Linked DNA regions of Homo sapiens: region 2 is linked to region 1. Evidence: promoter capture Hi-C in 16 types of primary human blood cells and fetal thymus (Javierre and others, 2016). All regions are on one chromosome and are shown on one strand. The core of a region is centred on a gene start or on the middle of the fragment in contact, and the rest is flanking DNA. Distances in the headings are between cores, read along the strand shown. Region 1 holds the start of PTPN18 (protein tyrosine phosphatase non-receptor type 18). Region 2 overlaps DDX18 (DEAD-box helicase 18).

Region 1 (5,580 bases), core at 1,457-3,956:
CTGGGGAGGTGAGTGCAGACCCTGATGGCACTGGGCCTGCCTAATAATAATGATACCGAAATAGTGACCCAGGGCACCTTCTCTGTGCCACTCTCTGTGCTAAGGGCATGTAATCATCACAGGTTCCTACGACGTGGGTACTATTATTGACGTCCCCATTGTGCAGGCGGGAAAGTTTATGCACCACGTGGTTCAGCGACTTGTGGAAGGTCCCAACCAGGAAGTCACACGGTGAGGGTTGAACTCAGACCCTCTCGGCACCCACCCCCTGCACACTCAATCTGTGACATTGTCTTGTAAGCAATAACTGTAATGAAATATATTATGGGCTATGTAGCTAAACATATAAGACAATGTACAATGAATGCATAGGCATTATAATGGATAACATATTATGTACAAGATACTATAGGCACTGTGTTACTGGGAGATTATAATAATAATTAGTGAATCGTGTATTACCATCATCGTCAGGTATTCGTAATCTCAATGATAATAAGTAACACCCATGCCACCACTGTGTGCCAGCCACTATTCTAAGTGCTTTACTTGTGTCCATTGGGTCATTTAAGCCCTCATGATGCCCTTGTGTAGTGGGAACACCTAGAAGAGCGCAGTGATTCCTGCACATGCGGGAGGCAGGCTTGGGGAGCAGGGGTGCCCTCGCCACCCAGCCTTCCGCATGTGAGGCCCTCCGCACTGTACACGGTTCAGAACCCACCCAGTCGCATGATGTCATATATCACATGGGTATTATGTTTACATTTGTTACACACATTCTTATATTGTATAATTATATATTTTACATTTATTATGCATTTCTTAGTTTCTTATATACAATGTTTCTACATGTGTGTAAATTACTTAGGTTTATAATTATCTGTTACTTTTTTTTTTTTTTTTTTTGAGATGGAGTCTCGCTCTGTTGCCCAGGCTGGACTGCAGTGGCGCGATCTCGGCTCACTGCAAGCTCCGCCTCCCGGGTTCACGCCATTCTCCTGCCTCAGCCACCCGAGTAGCTGGGACTACAGGCGCCCGCCACCACGCCCAGCTAATTTTTTGTGTGTTTAGTAGAGACGGGGTTTCACCGTGTTAGCCAGGATGGTGTGGATCTCCTGACCTCGTGATCCGCCCGCCTCGGCCTCCCAAAGTGCTGGGATTATAGGCGTGAGCCACCGTGCCCGGCCATCTGTTACATATTTTATATCTACTTATGAATTTATCAAATAACTTTGGTCATTTTATAAATTATAATCTTTGTTATATTCATTTGTTGTATTGTTTTATGCAGTTATGCAATGTTTATTGTATAAACGGTCATTTATAATACTTTTATATATTTGTCATATTTCTAAACTTGATACATGTCACCATATATCAGTTTATGCGTTTGTATGGTATGTTTCTATGTCTGGTACATAAGCGATTACACTTTAAACACGTCATCAACTGTAATGTACAGTGCCTAGCATTCTGCGTGAGCCTTCCTAATGCTGGGCTTGCACTACCTGTATTGTAACGTTTAGATTTTTTGTTTGGTTTTGTTTTGTTTGAGATGGGATCTCACTCTGTGGCCCAGGCTGGAGTGCAGTGGCACCATCTCAGCTGTGCAGTGGAACCATCTCAGCTCACTGCAACCTCTGCCTCCCAGGTTCAAGCGAGTCCCCTGTCTCTGCTCCCTAGTAGCTGGGATTACAGGCATGCGCCCATGCCCAGTTGATTTTTGTATTTTTAGTAGAGACGGGGTTTCGCTGTGTTGCCCAGGCTGGTCTCGAACTCCTGAGCTCAAGCGATCCTCCCACCTCGGCCTCCCAAAGTGCTGGGATTACAGGTGTGAGCCACCGCACCTGGCCCACGTTTAGAATCTTTATAGGCAGTGACGAACGCCCCTACGAAGTGTGCGCCCAATATGTACTAAGTGCTTTTCACCCACATCATTTAATCCTTAGACCAGTTTGGTCATTCATGTCCCCATTTCACCAAGGGAGAAGCCGAGGTCAGAGGGGCCAGGTAGACCGCCTGGACCACACGCGGATGGCCGGGACGCGGATTCGGGACGGGAAGCGGATTCGGGCCCGGACGCGGATTCGAGCCCGGCGTTCACACCCTCACCACGCCACAGCCTCCGTGTTCCTCTTCGCCCTGCTGCAGCCCCTTCCTTCCTGTGGTCACAGGGGACAGTCAGGTCGCCAGAAGCGGCGGGGCCGGGGCTGTCCAGCGCAGCAGGGCCGCCCGCCCTCCCCTGCGGCGCCCGCCCCACCTGTCCCGCCCGCAGCCAGGTTGTTCCGGGAGCGCGACGAGGACACCGGGAACGAGGGTGTGCACGGTCCGTCCCGGCCTGGCCGTGGACGTCGCGCTCCGGGGCCGGGGGGCAGAGAGTGAAGACGGAGACAGCAAGAGCGACAGAGAAGTGCTGGGGAGAGAAACACGGAGAGACCCCCCGAGGCGGGGAGACACCGGGGACACCGAGACAGAAAGGCAGAGCCCGCCGTGCGCGGAGGACAGGCGTACGCAGGGCCAGGGCCGGGGCGCGCCGCTCGCGGACCCCGTGTGCCACTCACGCTGAACTCGCCGGCGAGGACTGCCCCCTCCCGGCCGCCCCGCGCTTCCAGCCGCTCCAGGAAGCTCCGCGCCGAGTCCAGGCTGCGGCTCATGGCGCCGCGGGCCAGCAAGGTCCAGCCCGGCCGCCGCGCGCGCGGCGAGTGTGGACGCCGCGGGAGGCGGAGGCCGGTGACTGAGTCCCCGCCCTTGCCTCGGCAGCCAATGGAAGCGCGCAGCGGCGGGCAGGGCGCCCCAGCCACCGTGTTCTGAGCCCGCGTAGCCCCACCCCGGGCGCTCGGGCCGCTGTGGCCGGAGCCCTAGGTCCTCGCGGGCTGCCCTGAGCAGAGTCCAGCGCCGGCGCTTCCCCTTTTTTTCGGCTGCCGCGCCCACTGGTGGGGGGGTGGCACGGTCCCAGGTTCGCTCCCTGCCGCTTGGGACCCGCCCTCAGATCGGGATCCGCGCCCAGGGGCCGACCTCCGGGTGCCGGCTCTGGGTGGACGGCCGAGCGGTCTCGCCGGGCCCTCCCGCCCGTCCCCTGGGAGCCAGGCCGCGCGGAGTCCGAGCTGGGGCGGGCAGCAGCCTTGGGTGGAGACGGTCGCCGAGATCAGGCTGCCCCTCGTGCCAGAGGACCCCGGGTCGGGGGCGTCCCGCGCTGTGCGCTCCAGCCGGGCCCAAGGGAGGCCGGGGAGGGGCAGCCACGCCGTGGGAAAGGCCAAGTGGCAGCGGGATCTTCTCTGTGTATTTCCCGAGGAATTTGTGGTTCCTTTTTCCCGGATGCGCTGGGGCACCAGGGTCAGTCCTGTGTGAGCATCTCGACCTGCACAAGCCTGCTGGGAAACAGAACTGAGGCACTGGAAGTGGGTTCTGGGGAACGAAGAGCTTCTCTTTTTTGCCTGCCCTGACACTCCCATCTTCAGAAAGTGTGCAGAGGTCAGAGGAGAGCCGCCGTTCCAGCTTCCGGGATCACCGAGGGGAGGCTGGAGAGAATGGACTGGCACCTGGGTCTCTTCAAGGACAGGCCTAGGTTAGCCCCCTTCTCGCCGAGGTCGGAAGAATTAAGAGGGGTGTCACTGGAAGGGGCGTCAGTGGACACCAGTTTGAGGTCGTTGAGGGGTTGAAAGGTAGCATTGGGGCCTGGATGTGTGCCTGAGTCTCTGAAGGGTCAACAGGGGCATGATGTCAGGTGGTCAATTTAATTCACTAGGGGCTATCAGAGTATTTAAGGGCACACTTTCTTAAAGGTCCCGGTAGGAAGTGGTTTTGGCTTTGCTATCGCTGCCCCAGCTGCTTAACTCAGCTGTGGCAGCATGAAAGCAGACAATATAGTGTGGCTGTGTCCCAAAGAAACCATTTATGGACAAAGAAATCAGAATTTCATGTAATGTTCATGTGTCATGAATTATTCTAGTGTGTGTGTGTGGCCTACAGGCTGTCGTTTGCTGACCTTGGCTGAAGTGATGGAGCGATCAAAGTGGCTCTGTGGGGATCAGCAGCTAGGGCTGTTTGATTTATCGTGGGGTCCGCAGGGGTCACTGTGAGATTCATGTTCATCATTTATCAGTTTCATCTTTGAGCATTCTCAGGGAGGTAATTGTTTAGGATGGTGGTGATAGGGAATTCATTGGAAGCCAGTCGGGGTCCCTTGGATGTTCATGGGGGGGGGGGTGTCAGTAGATATTAATGACAGTCATTGGGAGGCCAGTGGATACTTGGGACAAGAAGTGAAAGTAATTGTGGGGCCATTGGGATTTGGAGTGTTAGTAATTGAAGGGTCCGAAGAGTCTGGGAAGTCATTGAGAGCTCTGCTCAGTGCATGATAGTGACTCTCAGTATAATCATTGAGGGTTTGTGGATGGCCATGGAGATCCAGGGAGGTAGAATACAGAAGCATCAGTAAGCTTTCAGAAAATAAAGACATTTTCTGGGAAAATGTGAGCCCCTGAGCACACATGGTTATTCAGGGCAGTCTTTATGGGCTAGAGGATCTCTGTCCAGCAGCAGGGATCCTGTTGAGGGCCTGTCCTCATAGGCTGAGGTCTGTCTGACTGGTGGAGGGCATGTCGTCCAGCTGAAGGTCTGGTTGACTAGGTGGGTGGGGTGTTCTCTCCTCTGGGGTAATGTCTCTGTCCATTTTGGGGAGGGCACCTGTCCTTGAGGGATTCTGACCTTTGCCTGGCTGGGGGGCCCAGGTGTCTCTCTGGCCACAGGCCTATTTGGATGTCTGGCTGAGGGTCTACCCATCTGTCAGTAATCTGTCTGTTTGTCCAGCTGGGTGTTTCCCTGGGATTCTGTCCATCTGGAAGTCTGTCCAGCCAGGGTGTGTGTGTGTGTGTGTGTGTGTGTGTGTGTTTGGTGGTTTGTCTATTAGAGGATCTGAGTGACTAGCCAGATGCTGCCTTGTGGCCTGTGAACATTAAGTGGCTGAGGCTGTAGTCTGCCATTTGTACTTCCAGCTGCCTTGAGTGTCTTTCTGTCCTCGTGTTCACCCTCACTCCAAGCCCCACCTTGTTGTTTAACCCACCTGTCCTCCTGACACCTGACCGTTCCTCATGTCTCTCCAAACATCCAAACTCTTAGCTTGCCCTCTGTTCAGCTCAGGCTAGGTGTGGGGGATGGGAAGACCCCACATCTTCCAGAGGCCCTGGCCCACCCCGGCTTTTCTCTCCCGGAGGACTGCCAGCTGTGTTCTTGCAATGAGACTCACTGCTGCTGGTGGCCCTCCTGTTCACGCTGCCAGCAGCAGTCTTGCACAGTGGGAGCTGCTGGCACTGCTACAGAGACCCCAAGTGTACCAAAGCCCACGTGCCATGTGCCAGTCTGTCACCTGCCCACCAGTCAGTGTGGCTACATGGGCCGCTCAACAGAGCCAAGAGGACAAGGTAGAGGAAGATGCACAGGGACAGGTGCACAAGGCTGTGAGTTCAGCCTGCTCTGAGCCTGCAAAGGGGAAAAGAGAAACTACAGTGGAGACCCCTGGCAGACACCCCTTCCTCTGGGATGCTTGCGGGGAGCTCCTTGGAGACTGCTGGCATCTCCAGG
Region 2 (5,580 bases), core at 3,081-5,580, about 13 Mb after region 1:
ACAATAGTGTTCCCGAATCTGCATTGCAGAACTGGAAGAATGTGGTTGTACGCTTATTTTGCTTTTGCTTTCCCTAGAATTAAATAAAAACATCCATTAGAGCTGGAATCTTGAGGAAGACTAGCAGTAGAACCCCCAAATTGTGGAACTGTTACCCTATTTCGAGCTCATCCCTTGGCCTATGTCCTATTTCCCCAACTGTTCCGCAAGCCCCTCAAGGAGGATGGTGTCTTGCACTCTTCGAAAGTCCTCATACCCCTCCACACCCAGCAGCGCTCCCCCACACAGGATCCATCATCTAGTGGTGATCAAACTACTCAGAACAATGTTTCCAGGAGAGGGCAATACCTCCAATCCTACAATCTATAGGATTTAATAAGCATACCCTGTTTTCAATGAGCTCATCATCATCACTTACATGAATGGCCAAGACGGGCAAATCAATGTAGTTCAGCAACTCATAGTGGTATTTCACAGACATACAAGATGAAAAGAAGACCATAAGCTTCTTCTTTCGGTTCTTCTTAAGGAATGTAAAGAGCAGAAGGAATCTCTTTTCAGAAGGACAAACAACATATCCCTAGAAAGCGTTTAAGCAGACAGATACAAATGAACCAAGTGGACATTTTCCATTTCCTAACTTGTGTAATTTCATCAAGAGCACTGATAAACACAGTGTGTAAACTGTCATGCCTCACCTACAGCATTTTAAAAGTTCATTAACCCATTTGCTTTCTGAATGATCCTTCCAACAATTACATAAAAACACCAAGTAAGATCCCTACAGTTTTCAGTTATTGATAAAAAGTACCTGTTCAAGACCATCCACTGTTGCATTCGCTTTATCATCATCAACGCCAACATACAATGGCTCCTTTTTCAGAGAAATCCTTGCCAGGTCTTCAACTTTTCGAGTTTGGGTGGCAGAAAAGAGCATAGTCTGTCTACGTGCTGAAACAGATACATATAAAAATAACCCCAATCTTTTAGGGAATCTTTACAATTGCCTCACAACTACAAATATTCTAGGTAGAGATATCAGAAATGGGAGATATGATGTTTCTACAGAATCTACAAATATTACAAAAGGTAAAAAGGGTATATCATGAAACACTAGGTCTATAAATTTGAGGACTTAGATGAAATGGACAAACTCCTTTGAAGACAAACAACTGAAGAAAATAGGAAAACTTTAAATAGCCTTATATCTACTAAAGAAATTTTAGTTATAACCTTCATGTAAAGAAAATTCCAGGCCCAAATGGATTCCATTGGTGAATTCTACTGAACATTTAAGAAAAAAACATCAATTATTCACAAACTCTCCAATAAATTAAAAAGAGGGCTTACATGTCAACTCATTCTTCGAAGTCAGTCATTACACTATACAAAAACCTGACATGACATGACAAGAAAACTATGGACCAATACAATTCGTGAGCACATATACAAAATTTGAAATAGAATTTTAGTAAAGTGAATTCAGCAATATATAAAAAGGATAATGGCTCATGTTTATTCTAGAAATGGATCAGGTTTATTCTAGAAATGCAGGTTGGTTCAACATTTGAAAAATCAACCAATACAATTCACTATGTTAACTAAAGAAAAAACATGATTATTTCAGCAGACAGAAAAAAAACATTTGACCATCTATTTCTGATTAAAAATCCTCAGCAAACTAGGAACAGAAGGGATCTTCCTCAATCTGATAAAAGGCATCTATATAAAACCTGCAGCTAACTTCATATGTAGTTAATGGTAAAAGACTGAATGCTTTCCCCTAAGATCAGAACCAAGATAAGGATGTCTGCTCTCACCACTTCTATTCAGCACCATACTGGAGGTTCTGGCCAGGGCAATCAGGCAGGAAAAAAAAATTAAATAAAGAGGTGAAACTGTCTTTATCTGCACATGATTGCCTATATAGAAAATCCAAAAGGCTACAGTCATCTGGAAAGTCATACTGAATAATCATTCGGTACAGGATTAACTGTCTTGCTAGATACAAGATCAATATAAAATTCAACTGTGTGTGCATATATATGTGTGTATATGTGTGTGTGTATATATGTATATATTAAAGCAACGAGCAATTGGAACTTGAAATTTTAATGAAACACTCAGAGATAAATCTGACAAAAGATGTGAATAAACCTGTATCCCGAACCCCCCTAAATATGATAGAGAAAATATCGAATACATGGAGATATACCTTATTATGGGTTACATGACTCAATACTGTCTTCCTCCAATAATCTCTATTCAATAAAATCTCAGTCAAGATCTGAGACTTTTTTGGAGGGAAGGGGGAGAAACTGACAAACCAATTCTAAAATTTATATAGAAAAGCAAAGGACAAGAATACCACAACTTTAAAAGAGAACAAACTTGGGGCTAACATTACCTGATGGTCAAGACTTAATAGGAGGAACTGGAACTTTCATACACTGCTCATAGGAATGTTAAATGGTACAGCCGCTTTGGAAAACATCTGGCAGTTTTTTAAAAAGTTAAACATACACTAAACATATACCAACTAGGACACTCCTAGGTTTACTTAAGAGAAAAGGAGATATATGCCTCTACAAAGAGTTGTAGATGACTGTTCACAGCAACTTTATTTCCAGAAAATGCAACCTAATCTAGCAGCAGAAAACAGATCAATACTCACCTGGGGACAAGGTATACGTGTAAGGAGGGGTGGGAGGGAGAAATTGAAAAGGGGCAGGAGGAAACCTTTGACTGTGATGGACATGTTCATTTTCTTGATTGCAGCGATGATGTCACAGTGGTAAACAAATCAAAGAACATCAAATTGTACATTATAAATGGGTAGATATAATTATACTTTGACAAAGCTTTTAAAAATAAATTATATAATGAAGGAAACCATGGTCTTAGTTATAACCAGTTCATAATGTTGCAAGTACTATAACCAAGGTATGTACAAGTAAGGCAAAAAATCTGCGGCTTCTTGGGGGATGTTAGATGAGGTAAGAATGGGCAAGAGGTGGAGGACAGGACCTATGTGAAGACTGCTTAACGTGCCTTATAACTTCTAAAACAGCAAAACTATTATATCAAGTTATAATACATTTGATGCTTGTATTCCAAATTACCTTTCGGGTTAATTGGCACAACTACCTCACTTGGCTATGGTAAAGTTCTGGCATTAGTACAGTTTTTCTATAGGAACAACTCTTATCTACCTCCAACAGATACTTTGCAAACCAAATGCAGATGCTACCTACTTACTTGGCAAAAGTTTAATAATTTGCTTTAATTCCTCTTCAAACCCCACATCCAAGATACGATCAGCTTCATCAATAACCAGACACTGCAGGTTTTTATACATAAATCCTGGGGTATTCTAACAAAACAAAGGACAAAGAACAACCATTAGTTGTCAGTTTATGTTTCATACAAGACAATGAGACAAGCACTACATCTCTTACCTGCATATGGTCCAGCAGACGGCCTGGTGTGGCCACAATGATGTTGATCCCATTACCAAGTTTCTGTGCTTCAGCAGATCTGTTACTGCCACCCATTATCAAGCCATAGGTATGCACGTGGTGAGTCATCAGCTCCTTAAGAACACCAAAGGTTTGCATGGCTAGTTCTCTAGTAGGTGAGAGAATAAGGACTCCTGTTCCTAAAAATGATATATGGTAGAAGTCTAAATGTGGCTGTCACCACTGAGTCCGTAACAGCTACAATAAACCTCTAGTGAAATAATGGCAGAAACAAGCAGATGAACGCTTACCATTCCTGGGCATGAACCTTAACTTAACAATGAGTTCAACTGCAGGGATGAGAAAAGCCAGGGTTTTACCACTGCCTGTTTTTGCAGCTGCTAGAAGATCCCTAAATATTAAAAAGGGAAAGGAGAAAGACATTTAGCCTACTCATTTACGACGTACTACATACACACACCTTAGGCACTACGGCTAGAACATGAACAAGAAACGTCTACAGTGCTGAAATTGATCACCTGGGTTATATACTGAAATCATAAGTCAGAACTGTGCTACAACAGAAGCAGAACACCTTTCGAACACTTTCCTTCAAACATCAGTAATTAACTTAAAGCCTTTAATGTATGCTGGATACATGACCCAACATATAGTACAAAATCAACAGAATATACTGGTATGTTCTTTATCATCTACTAGTTCTAAAAATAGATGCCAATATCTAAGCTTCAATGTTAATCATACCTGCCTTCCAGAAGTGGTCTGATACTTTTATGCTGAATTTCAGTCATGTTTGTAAAACCCATTTCTTTTATTGCCTTCAGAGTGTTTTCATTGACAAGATTACATAGAGAAGCAAACGAAGTATCCTCAAAAGCTCCTAAACAGAAGACAATTTATCATTAGCAAATTTATCTTTTTTTTTAAAAAAGTATTGCTACAGTTGCCTAAATCTATTTTGCTTAGAAAAGCTTCCCGCAGTAAGAAAAGGCTAAACCTTAATTATTCATATGTGATAATATCAAGAAAAAGACCCTATATCTTTCAAGTTTCTCCACTGTTAACGGCTGTGTGAGTTATAGTCCAGAGACCATACTATAACAAAACAAGGGGTAGAGAGGAGGTATAACCAAGGAATTTATATAAAATAAAAATACCAAAACAAGGAAAATAATGAGAGTCCAGAGATAAATGAAATGTTTAAGAAATCTGATATAAAAGTGAAAACATTGAGCATTAATAAAAACTGAGTGTGAAGTCAATAATAAAAAAAAAACCTGTTAATCTCACTCCAACAAGACACAGAAGAGTCAGATACAGCCACAGAATGTTAGGCTGAGCCTACGTATCAAGTAATACAGTGGTGGTTCAGCAGAAGGCATCAAAATCACCTGGGGGTTCCCCATACTCCACATGCCCAGGGTGTAAACCAATCACTCTTGACCTTGGCATTGCTGACATCTGGGCTGAATAATTCTTTGCTGTGAAACACTATCCTGTGCCTTATAAGATATTATGCAGTGTTTCTGACCTCTACTCACCAGATCCCAGCAGACTGCTCCTAGCTCTGAGAACCAAAAATGTCTCCTAGGCTTAGGATGACCAATCTTCTCAGTAGGCTAGGGACAGAGGAGATTCTTGGGATTCAGAACTTTCAGTGCTAAAACTGTTAAAGTTCTGGGCAAACCAGGAAGAGTTACTCTTCTTACTCGGGGGGCGAATTTCCCTGCTCGAGAGCTACTACCAAAACGTTTGCAATTTGGATTAAGCAGGTCTAGGGTTGGGCCTCAACATTTTAACAAACCAACCAACCCAAACCAAATAAACAACTCAAGTAACTCCTAGACATATCTGGTTAGGAGCAGTGAATTCTAGCCTAAACTCAACTTTATAAAGGAACAAAGGCCAAAGGAGGTTAACCTCGTACAGGGCCAATCATTTTCCTATTACAACATAGAATGAGACTCAGAAAAGGACAAACCAAGGAATCCTAGAAGCTGCTAGTGTGCATATAAAATATTTGGTGTCAGGAATGAACAAAAGGAAAAAAACAGGGAACAAAAAGAACTAAAACACCACAAAATAGAAGATAAAGAGAAAA

Evidence for each region. The method cuts DNA at HindIII sites, captures the fragments that hold promoters and counts their contacts. A CHiCAGO score of 5 or more calls a contact.
Region 2: a fragment that was not itself captured here is called in contact with the fragment with the promoter of PTPN18 in region 1 in 1 of 17 cell types (naive CD8 T cells); the score reaches 5.7 in naive CD8 T cells.

The regions. Positions count from the first base shown.
Region 1 is chr2:130,353,182-130,358,761 of GRCh38, reverse strand. It overlaps PTPN18 (protein tyrosine phosphatase non-receptor type 18), which reads right to left and starts at 2,706. Exons shown (of 15, transcript NM_014369.4): 1 at 2,562-2,706. The coding sequence starts at 2,654. RefSeq lists silencers at 2,267-2,316, 2,457-3,126. The HindIII fragment of the contact is 15,291 bases long and covers 1-4,441 here.
Region 2 is chr2:117,819,940-117,825,519 of GRCh38, reverse strand. DDX18 (DEAD-box helicase 18) reads right to left here. Exons shown (of 14, transcript NM_006773.4): 4 at 4,224-4,359; 5 at 3,770-3,870; 6 at 3,459-3,658; 7 at 3,259-3,373; 8 at 812-951; 9 at 419-580; 10 at 1-73. Among named protein-coding and RNA genes, the nearest start is that of DDX18, 8.0 kb to the right of the region's middle. RefSeq lists silencers at 4,807-4,876, 4,887-4,936. The HindIII fragment of the contact is 245 bases long and covers 4,208-4,452 here.